3 separate regions of the Homo sapiens genome follow, and all the other regions are linked to region 1. Evidence: promoter capture Hi-C in 16 types of primary human blood cells and fetal thymus (Javierre and others, 2016). All regions are on one chromosome and are shown on one strand. The core of a region is centred on a gene start or on the middle of the fragment in contact, and the rest is flanking DNA. Distances in the headings are between cores, read along the strand shown. Region 1 holds the start of PFN2 (profilin 2). Region 2 has its middle 76 kb from the start of LINC01213. Region 3 has its middle 36 kb from the start of LINC01213.

Evidence for each region. Contacts are between HindIII fragments. The CHiCAGO score rates a contact against its expected background, and 5 or more counts as called.
Region 2: a contact is called between a fragment that was not itself captured here and the fragment with the promoter of PFN2 in region 1, in 1 of 17 cell types (megakaryocytes). The highest score is 6.2, in megakaryocytes.
Region 3: a fragment that was not itself captured here is called in contact with the fragment with the promoter of PFN2 in region 1 in 10 of 17 cell types (megakaryocytes, endothelial precursors, erythroblasts and 7 more); the score reaches 13.6 in megakaryocytes.

What each region holds. Positions count from the first base shown.
Region 1 is chr3:149,968,685-149,972,636 of GRCh38, reverse strand. It overlaps PFN2 (profilin 2), which reads left to right and starts at 1,742. Exons shown (of 3, transcript NM_053024.4): 1 at 1,742-1,912. The coding sequence starts at 1,781. It overlaps LOC646903 (a long non-coding RNA gene), which reads right to left and starts at 1,358. Exons shown (of 1, transcript NR_036538.1): 1 at 1-1,358. RefSeq lists enhancers at 479-1,009, 1,010-1,541 and silencers at 1,387-1,446, 1,677-1,756, 1,967-2,206, 2,217-2,266, 2,287-2,546. The HindIII fragment of the contact is 10,546 bases long and covers 1-3,952 here.
Region 2 is chr3:150,160,866-150,164,977 of GRCh38, reverse strand. No RefSeq gene overlaps it. Among named protein-coding and RNA genes, the nearest start is that of LINC01213, 76 kb to the left of the region's middle. The HindIII fragment of the contact is 919 bases long and covers 2,170-3,088 here.
Region 3 is chr3:150,200,566-150,204,859 of GRCh38, reverse strand. No RefSeq gene overlaps it. Among named protein-coding and RNA genes, the nearest start is that of LINC01213, 36 kb to the left of the region's middle. RefSeq lists an enhancer at 1,691-2,192. The HindIII fragment of the contact is 3,367 bases long and covers 640-4,006 here.

The DNA.
Region 1 (3,952 bases), core at 493-2,992:
AACTTTTAAGATGATACAGTGCTATGATCGAAGGACTAAAATGATCAACATCACCATAAAAGGCAGAGTCATAAACAAGAACAATTAAGTGTAATTAAATCAGGTGGGAGGCACACTTACAAAAATGAAACAATTTTTGGTTCACATTTTACACCACACAGGTATTCTGTATCTTTAGAACATGAGAAAATACATATTCTCAGTCTGATAGGTCTCTGACTTGGGGGTTTCTTTTACTGTACTTTTTTTCTCTCTAGTAGCTGAACATTTTAAAGCAATCAGCAGAAAAAATATAAAACTTCAGAACCAATTAGACTTTTAAAAGCAACGTTCTTGCCCTTTCCAGAGATACATTCCTTAATCCTCCTACAAATCATGACCTCACACGATAACTTTAAGGGTGAACATCAACTTATCTACATTTTGGTGCTTTCTTTCCCTTAAGTGGCAGATGGTTTCTATTAACCTAAAATTGAAGTCATTGTTGGGGGACCCCTAATTCCATGTCTAGTCCTAGTGCCCAGAGGCTACCAAAGACGATACGAATAGCTTCTCAGGCACTCTACCCACCGTTTACCTTGTTAATACAAATCTTTCCCAGACCTGGGTCCCGAAATTATTTTACCCTGCAGAGCAGAAATGTTACGGTGTTCATTCAGTGAACTCTTCCCTAGTTTTTAATCTTTGTATTTTCTGCGTATACTTCAAGCCACCAGTAACTTTCCCAGTTACCAAGAAACAGTGTAACACAGGTCGCTATTTGTTTTGTTCGGAATTTACGAGCAATTTAACCACACGTGATTAGCAACATTAAGGGGGCTCCTCCAGGCAAAGAATCCACAGAATGAGAGGCCCTTGGTACCCAAATGAAGCAACAATGAAAGATCGGCGAAGCTCAGCAAGGTTCCTGAGCGCCACGGACGCCTGCTCTGATTTCAGGTTGCCGGCGCGCGCCCGCGGGTCTGCCTTTATGGACGAGGCGCAAGAGGGATCCAGGAAAGACGGTGCCCTTAGAGACTCGGAGATTAGCGTGGGCAACCCTGCCACCAGCTGCCCCTGCCACCAGCCGCCCCCACAACAAAAAGGAGGAAACGCTCCGCATCCCGTCACCAGGACAACTCTGTAACCCGACACCGAGGCTCAAGATTCCGCATCCCGGGCAGCGAACACAGGAGAAAAGCACATCGCGGCCCGGCCGCGGGGCTCCAAGGCGTCCGTGCCGCCGCTGTTCCTGGGGTGCCGAGAGCGACGCGGGGTCCACCCTCTCCGCCGGCCCGAGGTCCGAAGCTCGGCCCGCCACCGCTCCCGGCCGGCGCCTCCCGCACGTGGCGGCCGTGATTGTCCCGGGGCGGTATCCCTCCGCGCCCCCGCCTCAGTCTCCCCCCGCCCTTCCCGGGACCCTCCGTGCCCGGGCGCCGCGGAAGGATCGCACGCACGCGCGCGCGCACGCCCAGCCGTGTCCGCGGAAAACGGAGGGCGCTGCGGTAAGGAGCAGCCGCCACAGGCACAGCCGCTTCGCAGCCTCCCGCCGCTGGTTTGTCAGCCCCGCGGCTGCGGGCGGCCGGGCGGCCGAGCGCGCTCTGAGGTTCGTCCCTCATCGCTGAACCCGCGTCCTCCCGCCGCAGCTCCTCGGGGAGGGGGGCGGTCGGTGCCTGCGCAGAGCCGCCTCCTCCCCGCCCCCGCCCCGCCTCCCCCCGCGCCGCCGCCGCCCGCTACCGCCGCCGCCGCCGCTGCGCCTGCTGCTCCTCGCCGTCCGCGCTGCAGTGCGAAGGGCTCGAAGATGGCCGGTTGGCAGAGCTACGTGGATAACCTGATGTGCGATGGCTGCTGCCAGGAGGCCGCCATTGTCGGCTACTGCGACGCCAAATACGTCTGGGCAGCCACGGCCGGGGGCGTCTTTCAGAGCATTACGGTGAGGACCAGTGGCGGCCGGTACCCTGGTCCCTGCACCGGAGCGGGGTGGCCGGCCGCGGGGGCACCGCAGCGCGGGGCTGGAACACTGAGGGCCGAGCCCGCAGGTGTGCTAGGCAGCGGGCGCCGAGGATGCGGCTGCCGGGCGGGCGGGGAGGCCGAGGCCCGGGGACGCCCCCTCACCCGGGGCTGCGCTGACAGGCTGGGGGCGGCGGCCGGACTCCTTGCTGGCCCTGGCCGGGCGCCCCCGGCGTTCCCAGCGTCGGTCCAGGTGCCCGGGTTGGGGGAGGGGGCACGCACCGGCCAGGGCAAGGGGAGGGGTTCCTTTTTTCCTCCTAGTGCGGTTCCCCTAGGTTCTCTTGAAGCCCTGAGGTTTGCTATGCACGTTCTGGGGTGGAAGCGGGGGTCGGGGATCCGGGCTGGGGCGCGCGGGCCCCGGGTGGAGGTCCCTAGGCTCTCTGGCCGGCTCTTGCTCCGCGGACAGCGCGCCTCCCGCGCCTCCGGCTGTGGGAGGCGGCGGCCCCGGCCCGGCCCCCGGGATTCTCGAAGCGACTTTGCGTAGGTTTACCGATGTCCAGGCCTCTGGGGCTTGCGAGAGATGTACGCCGACCGCGTAGGTGGATTCGTGAATCTCGACTTCAGCTCTAGCTCTATAGGTTGTTTTTTTTTTTTTTTTAAATTCTCCAAGATGGCGAACTGCCATTGATTTCTCTTCTCATATGGAGATTCATCGATATACGGTTATCCCCAGTTATGCAACATAGCTCAAAAAAGGGGTGCTTTTCGGGGGCTTTCAATTATCTGCGAAGACCAGGAGCACACTTCACTTCTCTAAGTCCCTCCCTCTTTAGTGGTGGCAGTAAAGGAACTAATGCAGTTTTATGCTTCACATTGCCTGATTTTCTTGAGACTTGATGGTTTTGAGTTGGTTGCAATATGTTTGGAGAATATTTGCCACAAAACCTCCAGCTTATTGTTTTGCCTGTTTCTGCCCAAGGCTGTTTCTAAAATTATGATAATTGTACTAAATACGAGACCATTCTCTTTATTTCTTAGCACCACGCTCCCTTTCCATTAAGCACCAAAATTCAGGTCCCCTATTAAGGGTGCTAATTATTCTTTTACCACTTAACATGGTTTAAAGTCTAACTTTAGAACTCAGTCCTTGATAGTAGTACTTTAAGGTCTCGTATACCCGCAGTGGACTACAATTCTTGTAGGGAATTGGCATCTGGTCATCAACTTTTTTCCTGCAGTCCTCTTGTCTTTGTGTGTGAGTTCCCGCTGTCTGACTAGGAAGATTGCGGGAGTGTGCTTGGAAATGGCTGGGGCCTGCTATGACTCTGCAGTTCTGATGGGGGCGACGCCTTCCTTCTTATTCATGGAATGTTAGAATGCACGTTTTCTCCTTTCCGGTTCTGGTGGCTACCTCAGTTTCTTTCCCAATCTCCCTCCATTTTTTCTGTTTTACTATTGCCTACCGCAGTGCTGTAGACAGAATCCACTTTGCGTTTGCCCAGAAAGAAAACTGATTACTGAGATGGGAGGGGAAGGGAAGTTGGAAAGAAACGGGAGTCGTGGCTAGAAAAATAGGAGGGAAATATGAATTTGGAAAAGCACTGATGTCCAGGGGTTGAAGTCCATCTCATCACGTATATTTCTAGTTACTCTAAGCAGAGAAGTGAACACATCAAAGAACAGGCTTTATTTTGGGAGACTTTGAAGCAACTTTAAATTTGATGAAACATGATTTACTGTAATGGGACTGAATATGATAGACCAGCTTTGTTCAGAGTTGATAGCTGAATTTTTACCATTACGTGAACACTTTCAGGCACCAGCTGACTTAATACAGTTTATAAATAACTCTTTAAGTTTGCACTTTGTCTAGTGTCAACTGTCAACTCTTTACAGTTTCTTTGTATAGACTGGTCTTGGTTAAGAGACGACATCATTAACTGAAGTCAAATCAACTCATGTAAAATATGTGATTATATAGGATTAAATAATTATTTAGAAAAGACTGAATCTTGGTTTTACA
Region 2 (4,112 bases), core at 1,380-3,879, 190 kb before region 1:
CTTAAAAGAAAAGAGAGAACAATGGTGGTGGTAACATCTGCCTTGCCAGCCTCCCAGGTAGAATCACAGGTGGTGAGTCAGACAACTGTGAGTTTACAAACATGCAACACAGCAGCAATCAATGAACCTTCATGATGTGCTGGACGCTGTTTAGGGACCCAAATAGACCATTTCACCACCACTGCATGCAGATCTGAAAAGTCCTATTTTCTACATGCTTCCTTTGGAAAACACAAAATGGGTTAGATTTTTTCCCAATCTCTTGTTATAAAAATTTTCAATCATATATAGAAGTTGAAAGAAACTTACAGTGAGCACAGATGTATCTACCACCTAGATTCTACAATTAACATCTTACAATATTTGTAACATAGTGAGACCCCGCCCATCTCAATTTTAAAAAAGGGAGAAAAGGGCCAGGTGCAGTGGCTCACGCCTGTAATCCCAGCACTTTGGGAGGCCAAGGCGGGTGGATCACCTGAGGTCAGGAGTTCGATACCAGCCTGACCAACATGGAGAAACCCCGTCTCTACTAAAAATATAAAATTAGCCAGGCATGGTGGCACATGCCTGTAATCCCAGCTACTCGGGAGGCTGAGGCAGGAGAATTGCTTAAACCTGGGAGGCGGAGGTTGCAGTGAGCAGAGATCATGCCATTGCACTCCGGCCTGGGCAACAAGAGTGAAACTCCGACTCAAAAAAAAAAAAAAATAAATAAATAAATAAAATAAAAATAAAAATAAAAAAATAAAAGCCCTAAGGAAAAACGAATACTACAAAAAAACTTTAAACAGCTCTCATTGCTGGTTTCAGTTGTGTGCTCTACACCTGAAGAAATGCCCAAGGAAAAAGATATGATTTTAAAACCAAATAAAGGTTTGTCTCCCTGAGGGGCCAATGGTTTCTGTATCAAAGGCAGAGAAGGCACTGGAATACTATAATCTGGAATAGAAGCTTTTTGGAAGATAATAACAAACACCTTGCAATAGTATTGAATTGCATGTTCCAAACGCAGTCATTCAAGTATCCTTTCACTGTACTTGCCTCAACATATTAATAGTTTTCTTTAAACTAATTTGTCTTTTACTTAGATACATATATTTTAAAAAGAGATCTTATATCATTCCCATGGGTAGAAAACCAGGAGTATTTGCCATAAACAGAAACTAACTTGAAAATTAGTGCCATGCAAACCAAACAATGTTGTTAACTTTTAGCTCCATCCTGGGGCTTGATAAAAGCTCTGAGCCTGGGCCTGTTCTCTGTTTAAACAAGAAAAATAGCAAGATAGGCAAGAATTAGAGAACTGTTAAAACTTTCAAGTGGAAACTCTTCTTGATTTAATTAGAAGGACTGAAAGATAATTTAAAAGAATACATTTCTTAGTATGTGATTCAGTATAATATAAAATCAACTCCTTGTACTATTTTGTGTACCATCATGGTATACAACCCAGACCGGGTTTCCATCTCAAGAAGCAAGAAAAAGAAATACAAATGAAACAAACCAAAAAACAAAAAGACTGGAAATAAAGAAAAAAGGAGAAATCAATGAAATAGAAATGGAGGTAGAAACAAAATATGAATAACACAAAAAATTGTTTTATTGGAAAGAGCAATAAAATTGATAAATTCTGACTATAAAATTAAGAAGGAAAAAAAATCACAAATTACCTATGTCAGGAACTTTAAAAGAAGTATAACTACAGATCCTAAATTTTAAAAACAAAATGCCAAAAAATTTTACAACATTGTTGAAATGAACAAATTCCTTGAGAAATGTAAATTATTTAAACTGACGCAAGAGGAAATAGGAAAAATAAGTAATCCTATATTGATTTTAAAAACCAAATCTGTAATTAAAAGCCTGCCCCACCCCAGAAAACAGAGCAAAACTGTACGTTCGGATGGCTTTGTTGATAAATTTTTCTGAATACTTAAGGGAAAATTAATATACTTTTCAAGAAGAATGAGGAAACAATTCCAAATTTGGGGGTTTTATGAGGCCAGCATAATTCTAATATCAAAAACTGCCAAGGACATTCTAAGAAAGGACTATTATAGGCCACTATGTTTTAAGAGCAAAGACATTACAATCCCAAACAAGATAACATTAATAAATTGAATCTATTGATAAAGAAACAAGATTATACATTGACCAAGTGAAGCTTTACGAAACTATAAAACTGATTATTATTCAATAATTGATCAAAGTAATTCACCAAATTAACAAAATAAAAGAGAAAAATCATAATATCACCTCAATATATGCAGAAAAAGCATTTGACAAAATTCAAGTTATGCATGATAAAATCTCTTAGTAAACTAGGATAAGATGGGAACTTCCTTAATCTGATCAAGAGTACCTATAAAATTCTTAAGGTTAACATTACATAAATGGTAAAATAGTGATCTCCTTACCCCCAAGGCCAGAAATAAGACAAGAATGCCCACTATCACCACTAGTATTAAGCATTATGTTGGAGGAAATAACCAGTTCATTAAGGCAAGAAAAAAATATATATAAAGGTTGGAAATGAAGAAGTGACACTGTTTTTAATCAGACAACATAGTGGAATATACATAGATTTATCCAGTAACCTTGCTAAATTGAATTAGATATTCAAGTGTTAAGATGTCAGTTCTTCCCAAATTGACCTACAGATTCAATGAAATTCCAATCAAATTCTAGTAGATTTTTTTGTGGAAATTCATAATATTTTCATGGAAATGCAAATGGCCTAGAATAATCAAGACAACCCTGAAGAAAAACACAAAGTTGAAGGATTTACACAACCAAATTTCAAGATTTGCTATAAAGCCACAGTGATTCATACAGTGTGGTACTGGCCTGAGGACAGGCAAATACATCAACAAAATAAACTAGAAAGCCTAGAAATATACCCACATACATACAGTTACTTGATATGCAATAACAACACAAAGGCAAAAGTAGAATCTTTTCAGTAATGGTTTTATAGCAATTGTATATCCATATGGAAAAAAGAACTTTGCCTTCTACATCAGACACAAATATTATTTTGAGATTGATAGTAAAAATTACATGTGAAGGATGAAAAAATAAAGCTTCTAGAAGAAACACAGAATAATATCTTCATGAACTTGGATTAAGCAGAGATTAAATAGGACACAAAAAGCACTAACTGTAAAACGTTAATTAATTGGACATCACTAAAATTAAGAACTTCTACTCATCAAAAGTCAGACACCATTAAAGGAGTGAAAATGCAAGCCATAGCCTGGGAGAAAATATTTGCAATGCATATATCCAACAGAAGACTTACATCCAGAATGTATAAAGAATTCCTATAAATCAATAAGAAAAAAGACACCTAAATAATAAATGAGCAAAGAAATTAGTTGGTGTGGTGGCACACAAGCACCTGTAGTTCTAGCTACTTGGGAGTCAGAGGAAGGAGGATCACTTGAGCCCAGGAGTTTTAGGCTGTAGTGAGCTATGACTGCTCTACTGCACTCCAGCCTGGGCAACAGAGTAAGATTCTGTCTCTAAAAATGAAGAAACAAGAAAAGTCAAAAGACATGAACAGACACATGGCAAAGGAGGATATTCAAATACCTAATTGTCTAATAAACATATGGAAAAGTACTCAGCATTATTACTCATAACGGAAATGGAAATTAAAACCACAATGAAATAACACTATATACTCATCAGAATGGCTAAATTTAAAGACCGATGATACGAATTATTGGTTAAGATGTCAAGAAACTGAAACTCTCATATTGATGGTGACAGTATAAATCCCTACAAGTCCTGGAAAGCTGTTTGGCATTATGTAGCAATGCTAAACACATAACTATCTTTTGACCCAGCAATCCCACTCTTAAGTGTATATCCAAGAGAAATGAAGCCTGTGTCTACTAGAAGACATGTACAAGAATGTTCATAGCAGCTTTTTTCATAATAACCAAAAATTGGGAACAATCCAAATGTCCACCAACAGAAGAATAGGTAAATAAACCCTAGCCTATTTATACAATGGAATACTACACAGTAATGAAAAATATACAGAATGACATAAGTGAATCTCACAAATATTAAGCTTAGCAAAAGAACCCAGACACAATAAA
Region 3 (4,294 bases), core at 1,074-3,573, 230 kb before region 1:
GAAGGGCAGTTGGGACATTTCTTGAGATTTTGAAGTTGAGTTTAAGGTAGGTCTTTCAATGTGAAGTGGGGGATTGGAGCAAAATTAGTTTGTAATCTGTACTTCCTGTATAAGTACACTATGCTTAGTAGCCTTAGGATGAAAAGTGTTGTTTCTCTAGATGTTGGCAATAACTCAAGAAGTTAATCTAGGCCTGGCATACCACTGGTCATGTGGATCTGCCCTCCCTCCTTGTAAAGAGAAAGAAAATGGGAGGAGGAGGAGGAGGACGAGAAGGATGAGGAGGACTAACCCATCACAAGCCTCCTAGGTCACATCCACCAGCACTGAACCAAGAAGCTGCAGATGGTACAGAAACTGCATTATCTTCCTTTGTTCTTTGAAGAGTGTTTCATATGGATAGCACATGATGCAGCCACTGCTCACAACATCCATGGGAATATTTGGTAGAATTTGTAATAAGATATGTGAAACTGTGTTCAGGATTGGCAGCAAGGAACTAACAGCCATTGGTGACATTTAGAATTGCATCTGGCTGCTACTAATAAAAACCCTAGTGACTCCAGCAAATTAGAAGTCTGTTTTTCTGCACATAACATAACACATGGAAGGTGACAGTCTTGGGTTCACAAGAAAGCTTTACCTTGTTGCCAGGGGCCTAGGTCCTTTTGTTCCTCTGCTCCATCATCCTTAGCACTGGCTTCACTCCTTATGGTTGCCATATGATCACAAGTGGCTGCTGGAACTCCAGCAATCATGCCTGCTTTCCACACAATGAGAAGGAAAGAGAAAGGGCAAAATGGCATGCCTTCTAACTTAGTCTACCCTCTTTAAGAAACTTCTTGAAAATTCCAGTGACCTCCAATTTTGTGGTCTTTTTACCTGCTCTGAATAAAACTGGGTTTCAACTAGTCAGGAAGAAGGGGAGAATAAAGATTGGAGAAACAGCAGATAGCAGTTGCCAAATCATTCAAACCAGTTTATGTCAAACAGGAAGGATACATGGGAGCCCCAGGGAAACAGGACAAGAAGTACAGTCATGCCTCATGGGAAGCAAGAACTAGAAACTAGAGGCTATTGGAAACCCAGGTGGCCACTCTGGGAAGTCTCCTTCTCAGGCTATGTTGTTTCTCTTCTGTTCTTCACTCAGCACACTCACCTCCTACTTTTCTTTTTCTCCATCTGACCCTTTCCTTCTCTTTGCACAAGGTAAAAAATGGTCACTTTGCATCCCAAATTCACATATTCTCTGCTCAAGGAAACTGGTATATATAGTAGGGCTTCTCTGAATTCAGACCCCTCAACCTTCCAATAAGGAGAATCTGATTACCTCACTTTGGTGAGGACTTAATGCTGGTCTGACTCTCTGTGGTCAAAGAGCCACTATGTACAAATCTGTCTGCTAGTTTCGTGTGGGCGTGTGCTGGGGTAAGAGGAGTAATTCTCTGAAGAGCACTCCTCAGCCAGAATGGAGGCTCTCTTCGCTTAATCGTCATAATAGAGTAAAATGAACTTCTCTTTACAAAAACATAGATAACCAGAAAGTTAAAATTTAAAAAAAAGTTCTCCTTGACAATTAGGAAATCGTTGAGGCCCTGCCAGACCGTCCGCATGCCATCCAGACCGTCCGCATGCCATCCAAACCTCCGCATCAATGAAAGGGTAGGTTAGCTCCCATATCATCCTTACGTGCTTTCTGTATCACTTTGAATCTTAAAAACAAAAACAAATAAAACAAAAAAACCTTGTTATTTATTTCTGAGCTGGGTGGGGATGCCTGGCTAACTAGAATATCCCATTCTCCTTTCTCTGGACTGCCAAATAAACAGGGGTTTACTGTCTTCCCTGGAGTCTGGAATGGTTTTTGGTCAAATAGACTCCACATTTCCATGAGTTTTAAGATGCTGAATATCAGCCAGCTTCACCCCACCAAGTGTAATTGTTGACAGCTGTGTCTTGAAAAGGGTTTCTTTTGTGCTCATCCTGCTGAGTGAGCCGAATTGCTTCATTAACATTTAGGCCATGTTACACATTCAAGTGCTTGTGAGGTATTTGGATTTCAGATGAGTTTTTTTTTTTTTTTTTAATTCTTGTTCCAAACATGACAAGTCTCCATTTTTGTAATGAGTTTTTGTATATATGGGTGCTATTGAAATTTTTGCATCTTTGTTCATTTGTCATGCAAAGACATACAGCAATGATTGTTACGCTTTGACCTAGTTATTAAGGCCTTTTATATTTGTGAAGAGCAAATTTCAAATTATGCCTTAGAGTAACTATGACTGTTGGTGCTTCCCCGCCCAAGAAGACAATGTCAGCTTCAAGGGGTACTTGGTGGGGGAAGAGGAGGTGCTCCCCTCCAAAAGAACTTCTATAGGCTTCCCTAAGCCATCCCCAGTGAACATACAAGTAAGCAAAAAACAGTGCATTTTCCATGAAAATTCGACTTCAAGATAAGCCCCCTTTCCTACCCTTCCAGCGAGATTTATGCTCTGAACCATTTCTCTGTAGGAACTCAGCAAGCAGGAGCTAAGCAGCAAGCAGCCACTGCTCAGTTTGAGGTCCCAGGACAGGAAGAATTCCTGCAGCAGACACTAATTGCTTAGGTAATAGCCATTCTTCCTTTCTAACAGAATCCCAGTTACCATGTGGGTGACGATGTGCTGTGCTAAAAGCACCTGTCTTCTCAGACTCCTTTGCAGCTAGAGGTGGCCCTTGTTACCCAAATCTTGCCAATGAAATGTAAGGGAAAGTAATTGACTGAAACCTCTAGAAAAACTTTTCAAAAGAAGTACTGTCTTGCCCTTGCCTCTTTTTACTGTCTTCAACCCTGCTGCCTGGCTACAGGCAGAGTAGTCATCCCCTGAGGATGCAGGCAGGAAGACAGAAGGAGATTGAGTCTCTGGGGGCAACGTGGGGAAGCTGTACCAATTCTAGGCTGCCCAGCTCTGGAGGTCTGTTATCTGGTTAAGCCACTAAACGGGGTTTTCTGTTATTTACAGTCAAACACATTATTAATTGAGACCTTCCATAAGGGCATAGACTTTTGTTTGTTTGTTTTTGTTTTGTTGTTGTTGGGGCCTATTCTGGTTATCTGTTAACTACATAACAAATTACTCTAAAACTTACAGCTTAAGGTAGCAACCATTTCACCATATCTCTTGGCTTGGTGGGTCAGGAATTCAGGCAATGTCAGTGGGCAATTCTTCTGCTCCCTCTGTCATTGACTGAGATCACTGGGTGGTGTTCAGCTGGTGGATGGGCTGGTCTGGAAGGTCCGAGATAGCTTTACTCACATGTCTGGTGCCTTGACAGGGAAGCCTACAAAACAGGGCTCAGTGGATTCTGTCAACTGGAGTGCTTACACGTGGCTTCTCTGGCACGATGGTCTTAGGCTGGTCAGACATTACCTGGTAGCTCAGGGTACCCAGAGAGAAAGAGTTCCAAAGGGGTAGAAGTTTCCAGTTTCTCACACCTGGGCCTGGAAATAGGTACTGCATTGCTTCTGCTGTATTGTATTGGCCAAAGCAGTTACGGGCCTATCTAGGTTCTGGGGCAAGGAAACTTAGATCTACTCCTGATGGGAGTATTGTCAAAGAATTTGTGGCCATCGTTAATCCACCACAGGGGCAATGGGTTACAAAGTTACTTTCACAAAGTTTGATCTACAGGCCTATAATAGACAGCTCTCCCTCTGAGAGTAGACCTTGTATTCAAGTCTCTATGATTCTTGCAGGTAGACAGATGGTCTACATAGTGCCAGGCAGTAGTCTAGGCACTGGGAATGGAATGACAAACGTTAACCAGGAAGGTCCTCTTGTGTTAAGTTTGAGGTTGTAGTGGAGGGAAAAATGGCCTCCCTTCACCTTTTCAGGTTCTTTGGCCAGGCTATGCATTAACATAAGACATATTAACAGGAGAAAAAAAAAAACATATTTAATTATGTGCATAAGCACAAGAGTCCCACACAATATGAGACTCAAAGAAGGGCCAGGTGATTGAAGCTTGCATACTATCCTGAGCTATGGAAAGGAATAAGGACTGGGGGCATCTGGGGGTGATGGAGACAAGTTATCGGGGGGTTGGTGAGTGGAAGAAATGTATGGTAAATAAAGATTGTCTTGTTACAAGACAAGAAGTTTCTCAGGTAAAAAAGTTGTCTTTAAAAGCAGCCTTCTTTCTGATGCAGATACTTTTACTAATGTAGGTTTCCTTTATTGATAAACATTTCTATTACAAAAGGGCAGCTTTTCAGAGCTACTCCCATGTCTGGTGTCTCTCAGGATAACTAGCT